Linked DNA regions of Homo sapiens: region 2 is linked to region 1. Evidence: promoter capture Hi-C in 16 types of primary human blood cells and fetal thymus (Javierre and others, 2016). All regions are on one chromosome and are shown on one strand. Each heading gives the region's core, a stretch centred on a gene start or on the middle of the fragment in contact. The rest is flanking DNA. Distances are from core to core; before and after follow the strand shown. Region 1 holds the start of CCDC73 (coiled-coil domain containing 73). Region 2 overlaps CCDC73 (coiled-coil domain containing 73).

Region 1 (5,468 bases), core at 1,260-3,759:
CTGGCTCATAGATGCAGTTTCTAACTGCTGATAGAAACAGTTAGGTTTCTTTAAATGTTCACATGTATCATGACTTGAAAGTGATATCCCCAAAGTGAAAATAATGGTTAAGTCCTTTAACTTTTTAAGTTGTTACTTTTTTTTTTTTTTTTTTTTTTTTTGAGGCAGTCTCAGTCTGTCACCCAGGCTGGAGTGGAGTGGTGTGATCTCGGCTCACTGCAACCTCTGCCTCCTGGGTTCAAGCGATTCTTACGCCTCAGCGTCCGGAGCAGCTGGGATTACACAGGCACCTGCCACCATGCCCGGCTCATTTTTGTATTTTTTGTAGAGACGGGGTTTCTCTATGTTGGCCAGGCTGGTCTCAAATTCCCAACCTCAAGTGGTCCACTCACCTTGGCCTCCCAAAGTATTGGGATTACAGGCATGAGCCACCACAGCTGGCCGAAAAACCCCTTTATAAGGGCATCACATCCTATTCTCCCCTCATGACTCAATCGTCTCCTAAAGGCCACACCTCATAACACACTTGCTTTGGAGATTAAGTTTCAACATGAATCGTGGACAGGACAAAAACATTCAAACCATAGCACTGATCATTGGGGAAATTGCATGGGGTTAGGAGGGCATTCAGAGGTGATTACATTCAACTCATTAGCCTCTCTACACCTTAGTTTTCTAATAGGCAAAAAGTGCATAGTAATAGGATTGTTGTGGAGACTAAGATGAGATGATGTATGTAAAAACACTTAGCTCATTGTCTGGCACATAGTAAATTATCGTAAATATTAGTTATTATTAGAGTATAGCTGTTATGGTTGGTAAATACCAAATTGAAAGGTCATAGTCCATTTATTCATTCATATGAATTTATTTGGCATTTACATGCCAGGCATTGTGCTAGATTCTGGTAAGCAAGTGAACAAAATTCATCTCTGTTTTCACGAAGCTTGTGTCCTAGGATACAGTTAATAAATATACCAGACGAGATGGTGATTGTGCTACAGAGAATAAAACAAGGTGGGGTCAAAGTAGGGGATGTGCATGGGTGTTACTATGGGGTAGTTAGGAATGCTTTCCCTAAAAAGGTGACATCTGGGCAAACGCTTGGAGAAAGGGAAGGAGTAAAAAGAATTCCAGACAGATTTTTACTGGAAAACGTGGTTAAAAATTTGAGGGCGGGGGGCCGGCTGCGGTGGCTCATGCCTGTAATCCCAGTACTTTGGGAGGCCAAGGCGGGCAGATCACCTGAGGTCAGGAGTTCAAGACCAGCCTGGCCAACATGGTGAAACCCCGTCTCTACTAAAAATACAAAAATTAGCCAGGTGTGGTGGCAGGCGCCTGTAATCCCAGCTACTCGGGAGGCTGAGGCAGGAGAATCGCTTGAACCCGGGAGGCGGAGGTTGCAGTGAGCTGAGATCGTGCCATTGCACTCCAGCCTGGGGGACAAGAATGAGACTTTTTCTCAAAAAAAAAAAAAAAATTTGAGGGCAGGAACCACTTCTTTTACATTTTGGTAGCATGCAAAAACAATGTAGGCCTGAAACATATTACATTCTTATTGAATGACTATTCAACATAACATACTGAAACATAGCATTAGTTAGGTGCTTAAAATAGGTGTGATTATCAGTATAATTAGAACTGCAGTTTTTTTTCTATTTCACTTTAAAAATTAAGCAACTTTTCTTTTCTTTTTTTTTTTGACAGGGTTTTGCTCCATTGCCTAGGCTGGAGTGCAGTGGTGCAGTCTTGGGTCACTGCAGCCTTGACCTCCCAGGCTCAATCTATCCTCTTGCCTCAGCCTCCCAAGTAGCTGGGATTACAGCCGCACGCCACCATGCCCGGCTGATTTTTGTATTTTTGGGTAGAGACGGGGGTCTCACCATGTTGCCTAGGCTGGTATCGAACTCCTGACCTGAAGCAATCCTCCCACCTCAGCCTCCCAAATTGTTGGGGTTACAGGCATGAGCCAGTGAACCCTCACACCCGGCTAACATTTATTTTTTGAATTAGTAACACATTCACATGAAGCAAACATCAAAAAGTATAAAAAGCTATTCAGTGAAGTCTCCCTCTCTCTCCCGTTCCCATCCACACACTTCCCATTGCTCCCCACAGGTAATACTTACTCATTTTTCTTTCATCTTTCCAAAGACTTTTTTTTTAAAAAACGAATATATCGGGAGGCTGAGGCAGGAGAATGGCATAAACCTGGGAGGTGGAGCTTGCAGTGAGCCGAGATCGCGCCACTCCACTCCAGCCTGGGCGACAGAGCGAGACTCCGTCTCAAAAAAAAAACCAAAAACAAACCGAAAACAAACAAAAACAAAAAAGAATATATAAGCCAATACATGTTGTACTTAAGGAAAAACATCAAATATCCAGGTATCTTTTCCGAAGCTTGTATTTAAAAAGAAAATAAAATCAATCATATTTTGCCCCAGATGCTCAAGATTACCCACGTATCTTAGGCTAATGACCTTCAAGCCGGAAGTGCCCTAGGGCGGGAAAAGGTGAACCGGAAGGGCCAACAGGAGCTAGAGGCGCGCTTCGCTGAGGTAAGTCGGAGCAGTCACAAGCGTGTAGTTGGGCTGTTTAGGAAGCAGCCCTAATCTTTTCATGCAGGGTCCACTTACGGGTTTGCCCTGCACCTCCAGCTGCGTAACCTACCCTTCCTTGCTCTGGTTGCCAAGGGGCTGCTTTGGCCTGGAGCCTCCTGACTGCTGGGCTGTGTCTAGAATCTTCCACGCTCCCGACCCAGGAGAAGCAGCCACACTGAGGCATCCATCTGGATCTCTGCTTGGGCAGGATTGAGACTGCGGGTGAGTCATGAGGGTCTCGTCTGTTCATCGTGGAGAAGCGCCTTCTGTACATGTGCCTTGCGTGGTGGTGGTTTTTGTTTTAAACCTCATATTTGCCTTATGAATGCAATGCAATCATGTCGATTGTTCTTCTGAAAATTTTCAAACAACTCTGACCGCTCAGAGTTAGCAACATTTGGAACTGTTATTGGTGAATCTCGACTTTTTCTTTGGTGAACGTTACTTTTTGCAGAATGTTTTAAGTATAGTGCGAAAGTTCTAGCGCAGTTGCAGAAGTGTGTAAATTCCCAGGGACATTTCTCTATTTTTTCTTCATTCTGCTGGTGATTTTGTTTCTCCCAAACTGCCTTGCACGAGCAAATTTAAATGGAATCTCACTGGGAATGAAATGACTGCCCTGCTAATCCTGATAATGCTGAATTCTAGATATAAATTATTTGGTCGGGGCGGTGGCTCACATCTGTAGTCCCAGCACTTTGGGAGGCCGAGGCGGGCGGATCACCTGAGGTCAGGAGTTTGAGACCAGCCTGGTCAACATGGTGAAACCCCGTCTCTACTAAAAATACAAAAATTAGCCGGGCGTGGTGGCGGGCACCTGTAGTCCCAGCTACTCAGGAGGCTGAGGCAGGAGAATTGCTTGAACCCGGGAGGCGGAGGTTGCAGTGAGCCTAGATCACTCCACTGCACTCCAGCCTGGGCAACAGAGCGAGACTCTGTCTAAAAAAATAAAATAAAATAAAATAAATTATTCATGTCATTGCTGCAATCTTCCACTTCACTTTGCTGCTGAAAATAAGTGACAACCCTTAAGTCATTTATGGGAACCTTTATGATCAGTGCACTTCTTTTAGAAAGAAAATGTGAAGATTCCACGGAGTCTTCTGCTTATATTGAGATCCTCGAATTGATGATTATTGGTTATTTTGCTTTAGTTGTGATAAATTCCTATGGCTCTCTTTGTTTTATACCTTGAAGAAAAAATCTATACTGAAATATCCCAACCTGAGAATCAGCAAATACGCTGTGGATGGAGTTTCCTCTGTAGTCCTTCACTGGTGTCTTCTCTCAGCCATTTCTTCGGCCAATTTGAGTCTTTACAACTCTCCCTGGTTTCAGGGTTGCCTTGGGGGTAGTTGTTAAGTTTTGGAAAATTAGATTCCCCACTTTGATGATTTATAAAGTGTGTTAATGCAGCTTGAGAAAACGTTTTAATTTCCATACGGCTTCATATCGTAGTGTCAGGAAGGAAGCGAATGACAGATTTTTAAATTCCGAGTGTCCACCAGGCGGCAGCATAGGGTTTTTAGTTTCTTTCGCTCTGGCCGTGTATCCCGTAATAACTGTACAGGTGCGGTGATAGTGTTATTCTAATAGTAATAGATATCATATGTGGAATGCTTATTACACGCCAGGGGCTGGAAGTTATCTCATTTAATCCTAAAAAAACAAACCCCAAACCCTGTACCGTAGGTATTCCCAGTATTCTCCTTACACTTCATGGGAAAACCATGGGAAAGAGATTAAATAACAATGCAAGGCTGATTACACAGCCGACAAGTGGTGGAGCTAGAATTGAAACCCAGATGCTTAACCACTACTTCATGCTAACCAAATTAAAGTTATTGCAAGTTTGATCAAATTGTGAAGGATGCTATAGTTAAGATGAGAAATCTGACTGAGTTTTCTGAAGGAGGTGAAAATTGGGCACTGTTATTTATATAGTGTACCTCAAGACAGTTGGAGGTACACCGTTTCCAAAAGACAGTATTTCCTAAATTGTGTTCCAGGGAGCACTAGTCCTGTGAGATGCTTCAATAAAAAAAGGTTTCTGTGGCCAAAAATACTCTTGGAATTCATTTAAGGACTCTAAAATGTCCTGCAGTGAAGGAACTTGTTTAACCTAACTTTTTTTGAACTCACAGCATTCTTAAACTTCTCTGATTACAGCCGACATTAGTCAATGCTTAGCTTTACCATATGAGTAAATACTTACACATGAGTCAATACTTACCTTTACCATAAGCAGTGTACACTTATGTTTTTTATTTTATTTTTTACTAGTCTAGCCTTTCATTAAAAAAAAAATTCTGGTCAAGACCCATTACATTGATTTTTTGACTCATGAATGAGTCACAGTCTACAGTTTTACTGCACTAGACCGTGGGGTCCTATTTTTTTGTGCTGTGCTTATTAATGGAACACACTTTGGGAAATTGTGTTAGAGCTATAGTTGAAAGAAGTCATCGATTCAATGGTAAATGTCTTTGTTGATGGATTATGTTCTTTTATCAGTCCTGGTAACAGTTGAATGAGAACAGTGGTGGGGATTGTGTGTGTGTGTGTGTGTGTGTGTGTGTATGTGTGTGTGTGTGGTTTTTTTTTTTGAGACAGGGTCTGGCTCTGTTGCCCAGGCTGTAGTACAGTGGCGTGATCTTGGCTCACTGCAGCCTCCACCTCCTGGGCTCAAGTGATCCCTCACCTCAGCCTCCTGAATAGTTGGGACTACAGGAGCACACTACCGCAACTGGATACTTTTTGATTTTGTTTTTTGGTAGAGATGGGGTTTCACCATGTTGCTGAGTCTGGTCTTGAGGTCTTGAGCTCCTGAGCTCGAGCAATTGCACTGCCTCGGCCTCCCAAAGTCCT
Region 2 (5,468 bases), core at 2,193-4,692, 82 kb after region 1:
CTTGATTCTTAAACATAATATAAAGCTGTCATAATTAAAATAGCTTGGTGCAGTATACATAGTTATTTAGTAGAACACAACAGAATCTAGAAATAGATCCAAATACATAAGATAATTTAGTGAATGTTAACGGTGGCCTTTAAATCAGTGGGGAATAATGGATTATTCAAGAAATGGTATTAGAGCTGGATTCCATCTGAAGAAAAAGCCAGATTCCTACCTTTACCAACTTTTAGAAAAACAAGAACTTTCATATGTTGTTAGCAGTGTAAATTAGAACTGCCTGGTTGCATTCCCTCAAATATCACCAAACAACTTGTTAATAAAGCAGGTATGTTTATTGAAACTCATTGCAGTAAGTGAAAACACTACTTTTACAGAGTCTTAGTATTTCAAAAGGTGCAAATCAGTATTGGACTATGTAGAGGGTTATAGGGTCTAGGTGCAAGCAGATTTAGGCAGATCTTTTAAGGGAGGATATTGATGGGGATTGGGCAAATTTTGTAATGCAGTATTTTAGGATTGTGAATGTGGCAACATTGAAGCTCTTGAAGCTACTCTTGAGAATAAATAGTTGTTTGATAAACCAGATGTTTACCCAAATAAACTATTGTCTCAGATAAGTTGTTTTGCAGCAGTTGCCTGAAACAAACAGTGATATAATTTATTGGTTTTTATAGTCTTATATTTACTGGGCAAAGGTTTCCTGGAACAAAAAACTAAGTTGTGTTGACACAGGTATTCTCAGTTCTTACTCTGAATATCTCTGTTATATTGATGCAGGTGGTTTTAGTTCTCAGTCCCCTTTTGCTTCTTCAACCTGAGCTGGAAAATAAAATAAACTATTATTATTTAGGATGTGATCAATCAAGATTTATGCTGCTTGATGAAGAGTCATGATGGCATGTAGGTGGTTTCTGGTGGTGTGTGTGTGTGTGTGTGTGTGCGTGTGTATCAGTTTTTCCTTTTGTTGGATCATAATTTGTTGGATCACTTTATAGGACAGTGGCTATGCAACAGTACTTAAGATTCCAGAAGTTACACTTCTGAACACACCAACGTGGAAAAACACTAAAGAAAAGTTTGTTATCAGAACTTGTAGATCACTTTAAAGCCAGCAGCTAGGAATACCTATATTAAACCAAGAGAACAGAGGCCATCCCCAAATCAAAAATTTCCATTAGTAATTGGACTCACACCATAGAGTGGCCAAGAATGTAGGGAGCAATATTAAGGATAAGGACCTTTGAAACCATCATGGTTAATAAATAATATGTTTTTACTCACTTAAGGGGCTGGATTAAGAAAGGGGAAAGAAAGTACCTCAGAAAATAAAGAACAAAAGCCTGCAAATAAAAGCATTGCAATCTTTAGCTCTGATTATCTAGGTAGGGTGTTAGCAAGCTTTTTTTGTAAAGAGCCACGTAGTAAATATTTCAGACTTTGTGGACAGTATGGTCTCTGTCACAACCATTCAACTTTGTTATAGTGTAAAAGCAGCCATGGACAGTACTTACATGAATCAGTGTGTCTATGTTCCTATAAAATGTTATGGACACTAAGATTTATATTTTATACAATATTCAGGTGATTTGAAATGTTATTTTTTTATTTTTCTTTTTAACCCATTAAAAATATAAAAACCATTCCTGGCTCACAGGCCATATAAAAACAGACTCTGTAGGTCTTGGGTAGAGGCTGTCTTGATCCATACCTCTTGAATGGTAGCTGTTTCTTTCTGAATATGTCTGCTTCTGAAGCTTTCTCAAGACTCCTTAGATTTAAATTTCTTGATGGAATGGCATTCCATGTATTAGTGAAACCTAGTGTCTGTTCATCTGGGAGACATGAATTCAAGGATCTATTCCCCAGGGGTTAGCTACTGTGCTGGCAGTTCTTGGTAGGATTATTTCCAACATGGTTTCAGGATATTTGTTTTTTCTTTCTGAGGTCATTTCTAGAAGACATTACCTCTGAGCTTTTGGTCATATAGAAGAAAAGCAACTGTTATCTGTTTGTGATAAGACTCTGAAACAGATTACATTAGTCCCTTGGAGTGTTTTGCCACATTTGTCTGAAGTAAAGAAATGTCCAAAATCAGGGGAGAAGTAGCCAACTTCATAGGGCAAACTCTTAACAAGTTTATATGGTAAAAGCCAATGAATATAGGGGAGTATGGACTTCATGGTGTTATGAGTTAGAGGTAACCTTCTTGGTCATGGAAGTTTAAGAGTGTCAGATACAGTGTGCCATTAGTCCTCTCTACTTTTCTTCAAGTTTGAGGATGATGGGGGCAATGAATTTCTAAATAAATGACAAGGTTTTGCAAAGTTCTGTAATGACAGTCCCAGTAAAATGAGTAACCCTGTCCCTGGAGATAGATCCTCAGGTTGGAAACACAAAATCAAGTAATTTGTTTTTCTACTCACAGAACTGTAGCTCTCTGGCAAGAAGTTTTAGTTCATCCTGAAAAGATGGAAGCAATGATGAACATACTCAGAACCTGTTCTAGGGGTTAATTTTAGGAAATCCATTTGAAAGTGTTTATAGGGACCCTAAGGCTTGGATTTACAAGGATAACAGTTTTACCAAGACAGTGCTAATGACAGCTGTACACCAGAGACATCCTCAGCAATTTTAGTAAAATTTCACCACCAATGCTGATTGAATATAATGTTCAGTTTGTCCTTGCTCTGAGGGGTAATTTCCTATAAAATTTTTACAAAGTTCCATTGAGGTCCTCTGGTGCCACCAAGTGTCTGTCCTGAAAGTGTCCTGAAAGAGATTTTCTTTTTGTAATTTATTATCACATTTTTTCTTCAGACTCTGGAGCCAGTTGTAGGCATTCCAAAATAGGCTTTTTAAACTTCTTCAAAGATTTGGCTTTTTGGATATCATGGGGGCCGGGACTGTATGTCATAAAGATTAGCTAGGGTATTTCCTCTAGCCTTAACGTTATCCCTTTCAGTGTGGCTTTATGATAACCATCCCCTAAGGAAGCATTAGAACACTTAAAATGGTTGACTACTTGAAATTGGGATTCCTACTGAGATCGGAAACCATAATTATTTTTACAGTATTCCAAAATCATGGACAACACCAAAGGCATAGCTGCTATTAATGTTAACTCTCTAATGTCTTGGCAACTGGCAAGCTTTGCTGAATAGAATAAGTTCTGTCATCTGGGCTGGTTTAACCTCTGGTAAGGAGTCATGATTTAGGGGTCAGTTGAGACTGTTGCAATATATCCTGCCTGATATTTTTTCCATTTCACTTTCAAAAAATGACCTATCAACAAACAAGATTACATGTAAATTTAATCCGGGGGGAGTTTCTAATAAATCTGTCTGAAGCACAGTTATTGCTTAGACAGAGACTGAGTCGTCATGGATTTTCCTTTCTTTGGGTAATGGAAAAACAATACCAGGCTTTTTGTTAAACTTGTCTATGAGTAACACTTATTAGAAATAGAGATCAAAGAGATATACTTTATATAGGAAGTTATTGATTATCAAAATATTTCTTGAAAGAAAGTTTGGTAGGTGCTCTGTTCAATCCCCATCTCTTTACTACATTAGTATATTTTTTCATTAAGATATAAAAGCATTTTAACCTGTTTCTATTCAAGCATTTATATATGCTATATATAAAATGAAGTGTATATATACATATTTATAATGAATAACATAAAAAGTAAATTAGTATATACATGTACATATATGTAAGCTTAGGTAAGATTATATGACAGACTTATTGGCAATTTTAGGGGGCAATTGTCAAATAGTATTATTGTATAGTTTGTGCAAATTAAAAATTAAAGAGAAATAAGCAATGAGTTTTTCTTTTTCAGTTTTCATGCCTCTTATTTTTTATTTAGATCTTTATTTTAATTGAAAAATAAATATTGTATATATGGGCTACAATGTGATGTTTTGATACACCTGTGTATGTATATGTTGTGGAATGGTTATATCAAACTAATTAACATATCCATCACTTCAATGCTTATTTTTTTATAGTGAGAATATTTAAAATCTACTTTTACCAATTTTGAAATATACATTATTATTAACTATGCTTACTACATGCTGTGCAGTAGATCTCAAACTTATTCTTTCCATCTAACTGGAACTTTGTACCCTTGATCAACATCTCCCTTCCCTCCACCCCAGGCCTCCACCTCCCTAGCTTCTTGTAACCACTATTCTACTCTCAACTTGTATAAGTTTGACTTTTTTAGGTCCCATATATAAGTGAGATCATGTGGTATTTGTCTTCCTGTTAGTAGACTTTCAGGTATTATAGCACTGGGTGGAAATGTGTGGGGGAGAAAGTAATAAAAGTTCATAGGAGGTGAACCTGCTTGCTGAGAAATGTGTTTTTAGTAAATAACAAGGATTGCGCAGCATGAGGTATCATGAAGTCTAAATAAATCCTTAAACCACATTAGTAGAAGCCTCTACTAGTTTGACAGCTGCTAATACTGCCCTTGATAAGGAGCTGGCTTTTGCCACTAGGTCTAAGGGAAGACTGTAATAAACAATTAGACCCTGATGACTCCCATGGTGTTCTGTTAGAGCATTAAGGGCTTGTCTACACTGCTGAGGTACAAATAGGTAGAAAGCTTTATGACAATCGGAAGACCCAGAAAGGGGCGCTGTTAAAGTTTTTGTTTTTGTTTTTTTCAATAGGTTTTTAGGGAGCAGGTAGTGTTTAGTTACATGAATAAGTTCTTTAGTGGTCATTTCCAAGATTTTGGTGCACCCATCACCCGAACAGTCTACACTGTACCCAGTGTGTATTCTTTTATCCCTCACCCCTCTCCCAGCCTTTTGCCTGATTCCCCAAAGTCCAATGTATTATTCTTAGGCCTTTGTGTGCTCATAGCTTAGCTCCCTCTTGTGAGTGAGAACATATGATATTTGGCATAAAGTCTCCAATTTCATCCAGGTTGCTGTGAATGCCATTATTGCATTCCTTTTTATGGCTAAGTAGTATTCTGTGGTATGTGTATACCATATTTTCTTTATCTACTTGTTGATTGATGGGCATTTGGACTGGTTCCATATTTTTGCAGTTGCAAATTGTGCTGCTATAAACATGGATGTACAAGTATTTTTTTGGTATAATGACTTCTTTTCCTCTGGGTTGAAACCTAGTAGTGGGGTTGCTGGATCAAATGGTAGATCTACTTTTAGTTTTTTAAGGAATCTCCACACTATTTTCCATTGTGGTTGTACTAGTTTACATTCCTACAAGCAGTGTAAAAGTGTTCCCTTTTACCACCTCCACACCAACATCTATTATTTTTTGATTTTTTGATTATGGCCATTCTTGCAGGAGTAAGGTGGTATCACATTGTGGTTTTGATTTGCATTTCCCTGATCATTACTGATGTTGAGCATTTTCCCATATGCTTGTTGGCCATTTGTATATCTTTTTTTTAAGACTCTGGATATTGTTCTTTG

Evidence for each region. Contacts are between HindIII fragments. The CHiCAGO score rates a contact against its expected background, and 5 or more counts as called.
Region 2: a contact is called between a fragment that was not itself captured here and the fragment with the promoter of CCDC73 in region 1, in 1 of 17 cell types (M2 macrophages). The highest score is 5.1, in M2 macrophages.

Annotation. Positions count from the first base shown.
Region 1 is chr11:32,791,703-32,797,170 of GRCh38, reverse strand. CCDC73 (coiled-coil domain containing 73) reads left to right here and starts at 2,509. Exons shown (of 18, transcript NM_001008391.4): 1 at 2,509-2,558. RefSeq lists silencers at 4,014-4,133, 4,144-4,193. The HindIII fragment of the contact is 7,830 bases long and covers 2,403-5,468 here.
Region 2 is chr11:32,710,977-32,716,444 of GRCh38, reverse strand. The region is part of intron 3 of CCDC73 (coiled-coil domain containing 73); the gene reads left to right. Among named protein-coding and RNA genes, the nearest start is that of CCDC73, 81 kb to the left of the region's middle. The HindIII fragment of the contact is 572 bases long and covers 3,157-3,728 here.